Linked DNA regions of Homo sapiens: region 1 is linked to region 2. The links are contacts of gene promoters, found by promoter capture Hi-C in human tissues and cell types (Jung and others, 2019). All regions are on one chromosome and are shown on one strand. The core of a region is centred on a gene start or on the middle of the fragment in contact, and the rest is flanking DNA. Distances in the headings are between cores, read along the strand shown. Region 1 overlaps DDR2 (discoidin domain receptor tyrosine kinase 2). Region 2 holds the start of UAP1 (UDP-N-acetylglucosamine pyrophosphorylase 1).

Region 1 (5,051 bases), core at 352-2,851, 180 kb before region 2:
TGGTTTTAGGTCTAACGTTTAAATCTTTAATCCATCTTGAATTGATTTTTGTATAAGGTGTAAGGAAGGGATCCAGTTTCAGCTTTCTACATATGGCTAGCCAGTTTTCCCAGCACCATTTATTAAATAGGGAATCCTTTCCCCATTGCTTGTTTTTCTCAGGTTTGTCAAAGATCAGATAGTTGTAGATATGCGGCATTATTTCTGAGGGCTCTGTTCTGTTCCATTGATCTATATCTCTGTTTTGGTACCAGTACCATGCTGTTTTGGTTACTGTAGCCTTGTAGTATAGTTTGAAGTCAGGTAGTGTGATGCCTCCAGCTTTGTTCTTTTGACTTAGGATTGACTTGGCGATGCGGGCTCTTTTTTGGTTCCATATGAACTTGAAAGTAGTTTTTTCCAATTCTGTGAAGAAAGTCATTGGTAGCTTGATGGGGATGGCATTGAATCTGTAAATTACCTTGGGCAGTATGGCCATTTTCACGATATTGATTCTTCCTACCCATGAGCATGGAATGTTCTTCCATTTGTTTGTGTCCTCTTTTATTTCCTTGAGCAGTGGTTTGTAGTTCTCCTTGAAGAGGTCCTTCACATCCCTTGTAAGTTGGATTCCTAGGTATTTTATTCTCTTTGAAGCAATTGTGAATGGGAGTTCACTCATGATTTGGCTCTCTGTTTGTCTGTTGTTGGTGTATAAGAATGCTTGTGATTTTTGTACATTGATTTTGTATCCTGAGACTTTGCTGAAGTTGCTTATCAGCTTAAGGAGATTTTGGGCTGAGACAATGGGGTTTTCTAGATAAACAATCATGTCGTCTGCAAACAGGGACAATTTGACTTCCTCTTTTCCTAATTGAATACCCTTTATTTCCTTCTCCTGCCTGATTGCCCTGGCCAGAACTTCCAACACAATGTTGAATAGGAGCGGTGAGAGAGGGCATCCCTGTCTTGTGCCAGTTTTCAAAGGGAATGCTTCCAGTTTTTGCCCATTCAGTATGATATTGGCTGTGGGTTTGTCATGAACGGACACTTCTCAAAAGAAGACATTTATGCAGCCAAAAAACACATGAAAAAATGCTCATTATCACTGGCCATCAGAGAAATGCAAATCAAAACCACTATGAGATATCATCTCACACCAGTTAGAATGGCAATCATTAAAAAGTCAGGAAACAACAGGTGCTGGAGAGGATGTGGAGAAATAGGAACACTTTTACACTGTTGGTGGGACTGTAAACTAGTTCAACCATTGTGGAAGTCAGTGTGGCGATTCCTCAGGGATCTAGAACTAGAAATACCATTTGACCCAGCCATCCCATTACTGGGTATATACCCAAATGACTATAAATCATGCTGCTATAAAGACACATGCACACGTATGTTTATTGCGGCATTATTCACAATAGCAAAGACTTGGAACCAACCCAAATGTCCAACAATGTTAGACTGGATTAAGAAAATGTGGCACATATACACCATGGAATACTATGCAGCCATAAAAAATGATGAGTTCATGTCCTTTGTAGGGACATGGATGAAATTGGAAAACATCATTCTCAGTAAACTATTGCAAGAACAAAAACCCAAACACCGCATATTCTCACTCATAGGTGGGAATTGAACAATGAGATCACATGGACACAGGAAGGGGAATATCACACTCTGGGGACTGTGGTGGGGTCGGGGGAGGGGGGAGGGATAGCATTGGGAGAGATACCTAATGCTAGATGACACGTTAGTGGGTGCAGCGCACCAGCATGGCACATGTATACATATGTAACTAACCTGCACAATGTGCACATGTACCCTAAAACTTAAAGTATAATAAAAAAAAAAATTATTCCAAAAAAAATAAATAAAAAATAAAACTGTAATAAAAAAAAAGAAACGAAAAAAAAGAAAGAAAGAAAAAGCAAAGGAGAAAAGAAAAGAAAATGTGGTACATATACAGCATGGAATACTATGTAGTCATAAAAGAAATGAAAGTCATATCATGAAACTCTTCTGTTCACACTATTCACAATAGTGAAGACATGGAATCAGACATCCCCTGGCTGTCTTGGACCTTGTCCTTACCCCACTTTCCCCATCAGCCACACTGGCCTCCTTGTTGTTCCTCAAACACACTAAGTATACTTCTCCTTCAGGAATTTTCATGTACTGTTAAGTGTCTAATTCAGTAAAGTAAGAATCTTCATAGAGTTGAGAAAAGAGAAGTGAAATACCACACTGCCCATTCTTTCACGTACTGACATCTCTGAAATCTGGATGCACTTCGCAAGCAAATAGTGTCATAGTTTAACTGGCAGTAGTTTTTCTTTCTTTCTTAGAGGCACATAAAGTAATGATGCATCTTAGAGTCGTGAGTTGCTTAAATTCAGTAAAATGCAGTAATGATGACATCCATTTAGAAGCATTTACCAAGTGTCAGGCAATATGATAAGCATTTTCCACCCAATATTTCATGTTTCCCACTAATCACACATTCTACAGGTAAGTTTTAACTGCAAAGGCCATTCCTTGAGTAAATACTAACTCATCTTAGAACTTGGCTCTAAAGCCTGTAATTCCACTGAGCACACAACCCTTGAAAATCAAGACTTCGCATCCACTCCCGGTTCTACCACTTATACCATGTGGGATCTGAGCAAGCTCCTGGCTCTCTTTCGGTCTGTTTCTTCATGTGGAAAGCAAGAGAGTTCTATTAGGCTTTCTGTAAGGCAGTGATTCCCAAAGCCAGTCCATGGACCAATAGCATTAGAAAAGCCTGGAGAGGTTTTAGAATACATGTTTGTGAGCCTCCTGTTAGAGATTTTGCTTTGGTATACCTGAAGCTGAGCCCAGTAACCTGCATATTTTTACAGTCCACCAGGTGACTGTGCTGTGTAGCCAGGCTCTGGAGCCACTGCTCCCAGGTCCCTTCAGCCTGGACGTGTAATGATTCTCTAGGACCATGCTGGGCACCAGAGAAAGCCACACTGACCGTCCCACTGGGCTTTCATCCCTGGCTTTAATGCATCTCTAAACACTAGGCCATGAATGCAATGAGAGCCTCTGCTTCTTGGAATATCTAAAGTAAAGCAGAAATAGGGAATGTGGGTCACATGAGGTGAATCATGATATTGTTGCAAATAACTTTCCTTCTAACGTACTGCTCATTCTGAGAATGGCAACTAAGGAGTTTTATCAGAGCTACTGCTGCTGCAGCTGCTTTTATGACACATTTCAGTTAAATTATATTTCCTAGGCATAGAAACCCTTTATATTTTGTGTCCTAACTGAACCCATTCAGGAATTTTCCTATATAACAGATGTGGAGGTAGATCCATATAGGATACTCTGCTATGTGGTGTCAAAGGAGTGCCAGTTTCCTTCCTGAAAGCTCTTTGATCTATGTATTGTGATTGCATTTCAGTTACCATTTAGAGCTGTGATCCTCAAAATATGCTTCCAGGACCAGCAGCATCAGCATCACCTGGAAACTCATTAGCAACGCTAATTATCAGTCTCCATTTGACCTAATGAATCAGAAACTCTGGTGGGGTTGCTGGGAGGGGGTAGCAAACAGTGTATTAACCACTACTCTAGATGACCCTAATGCAGACTCAAGCTTGAGAACTAGAGGAAGTAGGGGAGGACATGAGGCTTCATTTCATGTAAATAACTTGTTACACATGTCAGCGCTCCCCTCTTCCTCGACTCGTCCAGCTCTTCCAGCATACAGAGGGTTTAGGTCAACTGTGTGGTGGACAGCAGAGTGGCAATGACATTGATGAAAACTGGAAAGGCTCTCCCTGAGTCAACCTCTGCCTGGAGACCAAAATAGAATTCTTGGAGAGGAAGAGTCCAGGAATGATAGGTAAGATGTTACTCTCAACAGGCGGCAGTCAAGGAATGAGAAGTAAGCTTGGCCTTTGAGAACCATCCAGTCCATTAGCAAGTTCTACAAATCCTACCTCCTGCAGTTGAGTCCAGCTGTTTCTCTCCTCTATTCTTCCCATGCAGTGCGCAACCTCCATGACCTCCCATCTGAGCCACTATAATGCCTTCTAGCTCTTCTTCGTTGTTCCTCTATCATCCCTTCTCCACACAATAGCCCAAATTAGCTTCCTAAAACTTTATTCTGTCATGAACCTTCTAACAGGTTTTCATTCTTCTTAAGAAAATGTGACCCTTGAGGTCCACACGATTGGGTCTCAGCCTACTCTCTGGCCTCATCTCTGGCTATTCCCTGTTCTTTGCTCTCTACCAAGCACGCTGACCTTATTTCAGTTCCTGAATGCACAAAGTATCTTCCAGCCTCAAGGTCTCTGTGCATGATGCTCCCTTTACCTGGGATGTGCATCCTCCCTCCTTCACTCACTAGCTCCTGCTCATCCTTCAGCTGTCAGCCAGTCACTCCCCCAAGGAATTCCCCCAAGTCCCCAGCTAAGTTAGGAATTTCTATTATATGCTCTTATAACAAACTGGTTTTCGTTCATAACAGTTTTTAGACTTGTAATGTAAATAATTGTTTAATTTTGGTCTGCCCACTAAACAGCATGTGTTATGAGGGCAAGGATCATATCTATCTTCCTCTGTTGTATCTCCAATTTCTAGTAGGATGTCTGGCATTAACCAAGTGCTCAATAAACGTCTATTGAAAAGTGATAAAGGAAGTGTTTTCTGTTGTTCATCACTTTACAAGGCTTAAAAACAAAGTCCTGGGAGTTTGGTCAAGGGTAGCCTTGGCTAATGGTGTTTTAGCAGACAGGAGATACAGGAAACTTCCTTGTAAGTCTGAGTCATGACATATTTTATTGCAACCTATCTTTACCTGCATGTATTGAGTTCACAAATGTATTTCTTTTACAAATGTGTATGTATTTATTTAATAAATAAGTTTTTGCTGTGTATCGGGTGTTCTTCTGAAGATACAGTAGTAAGCAAGACAGATAAAATAATTTGTCTCATGGATCTTACATTCCGGTAGGGGAGACAGAAAAAAGAAAATAGATTTTTCATAATCAAATAGGCACAATTTGATTATGTATTTGACAGTAGCTATTACT
Region 2 (5,101 bases), core at 231-2,730:
CTTCATGCCACAAAAATAGTAGCATGTTTCCCATTAACGATGTTTAGAGGCACGTGTAATGGTAAGCAGCAATTAACAGAAGAGTTAAAAGATATGGATTTTTATTTTGACAACCGAAATCTGAAAAAGTTGAAAATCTGCTCGAGAAATTATGACAAAACTTGGTACATGCCCACAGCCTAATCCATCTGCATCAAAATATATGAAAAATTTGGTAATAATCTACCATTATCAAATATATTTTTATTAGAATTTAAATACCAGTATTAAAGAAATCCAGTATTTCTCCCTCCTTTTCTGGCTTCCCCCACCCAGCCCCTATCTCTGCTGGTATACGTATGCCCTCGAAATGAATAAGTAAACCTCTTAAAGCTTTTGAAAAACAGTATCAGAGTTGAGACATAACCACCAACTGAATCCTATAAATGCTTGGCAGCACAGCCTATGAAGTCTTTCTTTGCTCCAGCTAAGTGAGCCAACTGACTAACCGTGAAGGAATAGACAACTGCCTTGAGTTTCCGGCGAACTCTTGGATCCACACCCAGTGAATTTCACCTAAAAGTCCTTAAACTTTTGCAATACCAAATGACACACACATATGATCATAATCCTATTACCTGATTTCAGATTTCATAAACCATGTAGAAGTAAGTGTAGCACAGCGACAGGCCAAAGTTCAAGCAGCCATATGTTCAGCATACGTGTGCTCAGCCCTCCAATACCATCCTTCTGCTTGGCCAAGAGAGGGGAAACCCAGAAATTTCAATTCTCTCTCACTACCAGTATCATGGCAAACCAAACCAAAAAAAAGAAAGAAAAAAGTGGCAAGCAAACAGGTTTTGTCCCACTGTCCTGTCCTCCAAATGTATCCCCTGTCTTTGTCAGACCTCTCAAATCTTTTCCTCATATATTCAAGACACACCAACTCGCTTCCACCTGACAGTGCCAACGATCTCCTGTCCCACTACAGGCCCCCACACTTGGTATAACTGTCCACAAGGCCCTAGCCTGAGAGCCTCGAGGTCTCTACTGCCCACCCGGGAGAGGCCCCACTCCCAACCCCACACGCCTACACGACCCCCTCGGACTCAGACACTGGCCCAGACCTCCTCCCACAACGCCCCCAGTCCATCTGGGGCGCGCTCATTCCATCCCTGGCCCCGCCATCCACCCGGCTGCCCAGCCCACACACCCTCTCGCGGGGTGGCGGAGGATGGGGTGCGACTGCGGGGCGCACGGGCTGGGGTGTGTGTCTGCGGGCGAGCGGGAGGCTCCTCGGCGTGTGCTCGGCTGCCCGCGCTGTGCACGTTCGTGCGACGCGTGTCCACGTCTGAGCGCGTGGCCGTGTGTGCGGTGGGGCCAGGCCCTCCGCCCGCCCGGGTCCCGAGCCCCGCCGTCTCCTCGCTGGGCTGGGAGCCCCTCACCTTTCTCGGCGCGACCGCAGCTACGACCGTCTCCAGCTCCTTCCGCGCGGCCACTCATCGGCGTCCCGCGCTCGCTCCGAATATATACCCTCATCCGGGGGGCCGCGGCGGCGGGGCGGGCCGGGAGCGGGGGCCAAGTGGAGCGCCAGCCCCGGCCACCCCGCCCCTCTCGCCACGACTAGTGGCTGCCGACGCCTGAAGGAGTGGAAGCCGACCGCCCAGACACGTCAGCGCCGGGAGCACAGACGACGACGCGGACGCGGAGGCGGCCGCGGCCCGGGGCGCCGGGGCGGGGCTAGGGATGGGGGCCGGGCATGAAAGGAGTAACCCACCGGGCCGGGGCGGGGCCTAGTGCGTCACTCATTCTCTGGCCCAATGGGAATAGTTCTGGAGCGCAGTCGGCTGGCGTCCCGGTCCCTCCTGCGCACTAACTGAGGGTGAAGGATGTCGGTTGGGTCTGCTAGGAGGGGCCAGGAGCCGGCCGGCAGAGAGCGGCTCGTGGGTCCCAGGACCCCTGACGTCCCTAGGTTGTACTGGGAGGTGCGAGCCCGAGGCTCTTAGTCGGCCCAGCGGCACGGGGCACAAGCGGGCCACAGAGATGGGCAGGGAGCTGTGTCCCCAGGGTGGCGGATTTCCGAGCCACCCACGCGGGTGGTTGGGAAAGGGCGGTGGATTTTCCTGCGGAGAAACTTTCAGGGCGGGCCTGGCGCGCTCTCTGACCTTGGGCTAGTTATTTTGTGTGCAGTTCACAAGATGCCTGGCCGGGCTCCAAACTCGCTCTCTGTTTGGTTGTGTTTTGGCTCCCAAGAAGGCGAAGCCAGGCCTTTTTTCTTTTGCACAAACAGACAGGAAAGGAGAGAGGAAATGCAAGCAAAGGTAGTAGGTAACCTAAGGTAGTATAAGCCCGGGGTCATCTTTGTGAGTTTGCAGACTTAACGTCGCTAGGCCTCAGTACTCTGCAGAAAGATGGTGGAGGACCTAGATGACCTCCCAGGCCATTCCAGGACCAGTGTTTACAGTCCTGTTACATAACCTAGTGTGGGTGTGCACACACAGGTTATTATATGTTCAGCACTGTGCCCTTGGAAGCTATGTTTACATTTAAAGTTGTGTTGCATTTTGCAGCTTTTGCAAGAAGTGGAATATGTTGAAATACGAAAATACCTAGATTTAACATACCACCTATCATAAAGAGATTCAGGCGCCTTTCTTCTACTTTCTTGGGTGCAAAGGCCTTTTCATTCCCTTTACCAATTGCATAATCACCCACTGCCTCAAGTAACAACAGAAAAACTTAAACTTGGTAAGTAATGCTGGTAGATTTACATTCAGGAGATTGAATACTCTCCATCTCTCATGATCCTAGAACTTCCTTCGTTTCTTTGAAAGAAGAATAGTGTAGTGATTGGTTTATAGTGTAGTGATTGGTTTCTTAATCATGGGATCTGAAGACAATTTCAGCTTTATTGCTTGTGATCTTTGGCAAGCTACTTGTGCTATCAGTTTTCTCATCTATAAAAAACAGACAATAAAGATGAAAATGCCATTTGGTGGTTGTATTAAACCAATCGATATAAATGAAGTATGTAAAACAGTAAACACTAAATAACCTTTAGTTATTATTTATTATTGAGCACTTATTAATTCAAACTAGGAGACCCAGATTCAAAATCAGTCTACGCTTACTAACTGTGTGACTTTGGGTAAGTCATTTAACCACTCCAAACTCCAATGTCCTTTTATGAAATGAAGCTAATACCTATTTCACATGGGTATAGTAAAAAATGAGAAAGAACCTAAGATAATGTCTGGAATATTATAGGCATTCTATAAGTCATAGATGAATGACTGAGTAAAGAGCAAAATTATTAGTTAGCAATCCTTTAAAGAAAAAAGATAGAACTGAGGTCCAGCTCAATGTTTTTAATGAACTACTATAAAATCACATTTGTACTTTTACCCTTTTTTGCTGAAGTTTCATTTGTTTGTTATTCTGGTTACTAGGCATAAGAGGGGCCATAATCTCATCTTGCCAGCTAAATGTCCAGAAATGTCTAACACTAGAGTTATTTCTGTCCTTCGAAATACTTTTTATATACATGGTCTTTTAAGAGCTGATTGAAGAAAACAAGGCAACGATGTTCACACTACCTATGATTTTTTGACATTACACCAAAGGTATCAGCTAATGAAGTTAGACAACAGAAATCCTAAGAGGCTTATAAATTAGAAAAAATATATAAGAATTAAAAAATTATTTTTTAAGAATTTTAAAAAGTCATAAAACTACTTCGACTTGCAAATGACAAGAGAGAATACCTGGAAAGCCCTTGAGAGTCAACAATAAGACTAACAAACCACAGAAAAATTTTGGTTAGTGTATTAGTCCGTTTTCACACTGCTATCAAGAGATACCCAAGACTGGGTAATTTATAAAGAAAAGAGGTTTAATTGACTCACAGTTCTGCATGGCTGCAGAGGCCTCAGGCAACTTACTATCCTGGTGGAAGGCACCTCTTCACAGGGCAGCAGGAGAGAGAATGAGTGCTGAGCAAAGGGGGAAGCCCCTTACAAAACCATCATATCTGCCAGGCGCGGTGGCTCACGCCTGTAATCCCAGCACTTTGGAGGCTGAGGCGGGCAAATCACGAGGTCAAGAGTTTGAGATCAGCCTGGCCAACATAGTGAAACCCTGTCTCTATTAAAAATACAAAAATTAGCTGGGTGTGGTGGCACGCACCTGTAGTCCCAGCTACTTAGGAGGTTGAGGCAGGAGAATCGCTTAAACCTGGGAGGCGGAGGTTGCAGTGAGCCTAGATTTCACCACTGCACTCCAGCCTGGATGACAGAGCGAGACTGTCTCAAAAAAAAAAAAAAAAAAACAGATCTAATGAGAACTCACTATCACGAGAACACTATGGCAGAAACCACGCCAGTGATTCAATTATCTCCACCTGGTCTGGCCCTTGACACATGAAGATTATTACAATTCAAGGTGAGATTTGGGTGGGGACACAGAGACAAACCATATCAGTAAGGTAGCAAGTTATAAAATGAACATATAGAAATCAATAGCTCTCATATACACACATTATAACATTTAGAAGACACGATGGTGGAGAAAATCCCATTTATAACAGCAACAAAAAAAATTAAGTATAAATTTAGCGCAAAATGTGCAAAATCTGTGTAAGGAGAGTTATAAAAGATGCCTAAAAGCCACACAAGATATTTGATCAAATGAAAAAATTCTGGAGCTATTTCATGTGTGTTGCGGATATGAACAAATGACTAAATAAATTGATTTTGGTCATTGTGCTGTGGTTATGTAAAAGAATGTTTATGTTCCTAGGAAAGACATACTAAAATATTTAGGGGTAAAAGAATATGATGTCTGTAATTCTTAAATGGCTCAGAAAGATGAGGAGCAATGGCTTACGCCTGTAAGCCCAACACTTTGGGAGGCCAAGGCGAGAGGATCACTTGAGCCTAGGAATTTGAGACTAGCCTGGGCAACATGGCAAAACCCCATCTTTATTAAAAAACATAAAAATTAACCGGGCATGGTAGTATGTGCCTGTGGACCCAGCTACTCCCAAGGCTGAAACAGGAGGATCGCTTTAGTCCAGGAGGTTGAGGCTGCAGTGAGCTGTGATCATGCCACTACACTGCAGTAT

Evidence for each region. Contacts are between HindIII fragments. The study calls those that stand out against the background at their distance.
Region 1: a contact is called between a fragment that was not itself captured here and the fragment with the promoter of UAP1 in region 2, in 1 of the 25 tissues and cell types used here (aorta).

Annotation. Positions count from the first base shown.
Region 1 is chr1:162,733,946-162,738,996 of GRCh38, reverse strand. All of the region lies in intron 3 of DDR2 (discoidin domain receptor tyrosine kinase 2), which reads right to left. Among named protein-coding and RNA genes, the nearest start is that of HSD17B7, 54 kb to the left of the region's middle. The HindIII fragment of the contact is 7,364 bases long and covers 1-5,051 here.
Region 2 is chr1:162,558,101-162,563,201 of GRCh38, reverse strand. UAP1 (UDP-N-acetylglucosamine pyrophosphorylase 1) reads right to left here and starts at 1,480. Exons shown (of 11, transcript NM_001324116.5): 1 at 1,425-1,480. UAP1-DT (UAP1 divergent transcript) reads left to right here and starts at 1,849. Exons shown (of 3, transcript XR_426859.4): 1 at 1,849-1,964; 2 at 2,550-2,727. RefSeq lists a silencer at 992-1,891. The HindIII fragment of the contact is 20,893 bases long and covers 1-5,101 here.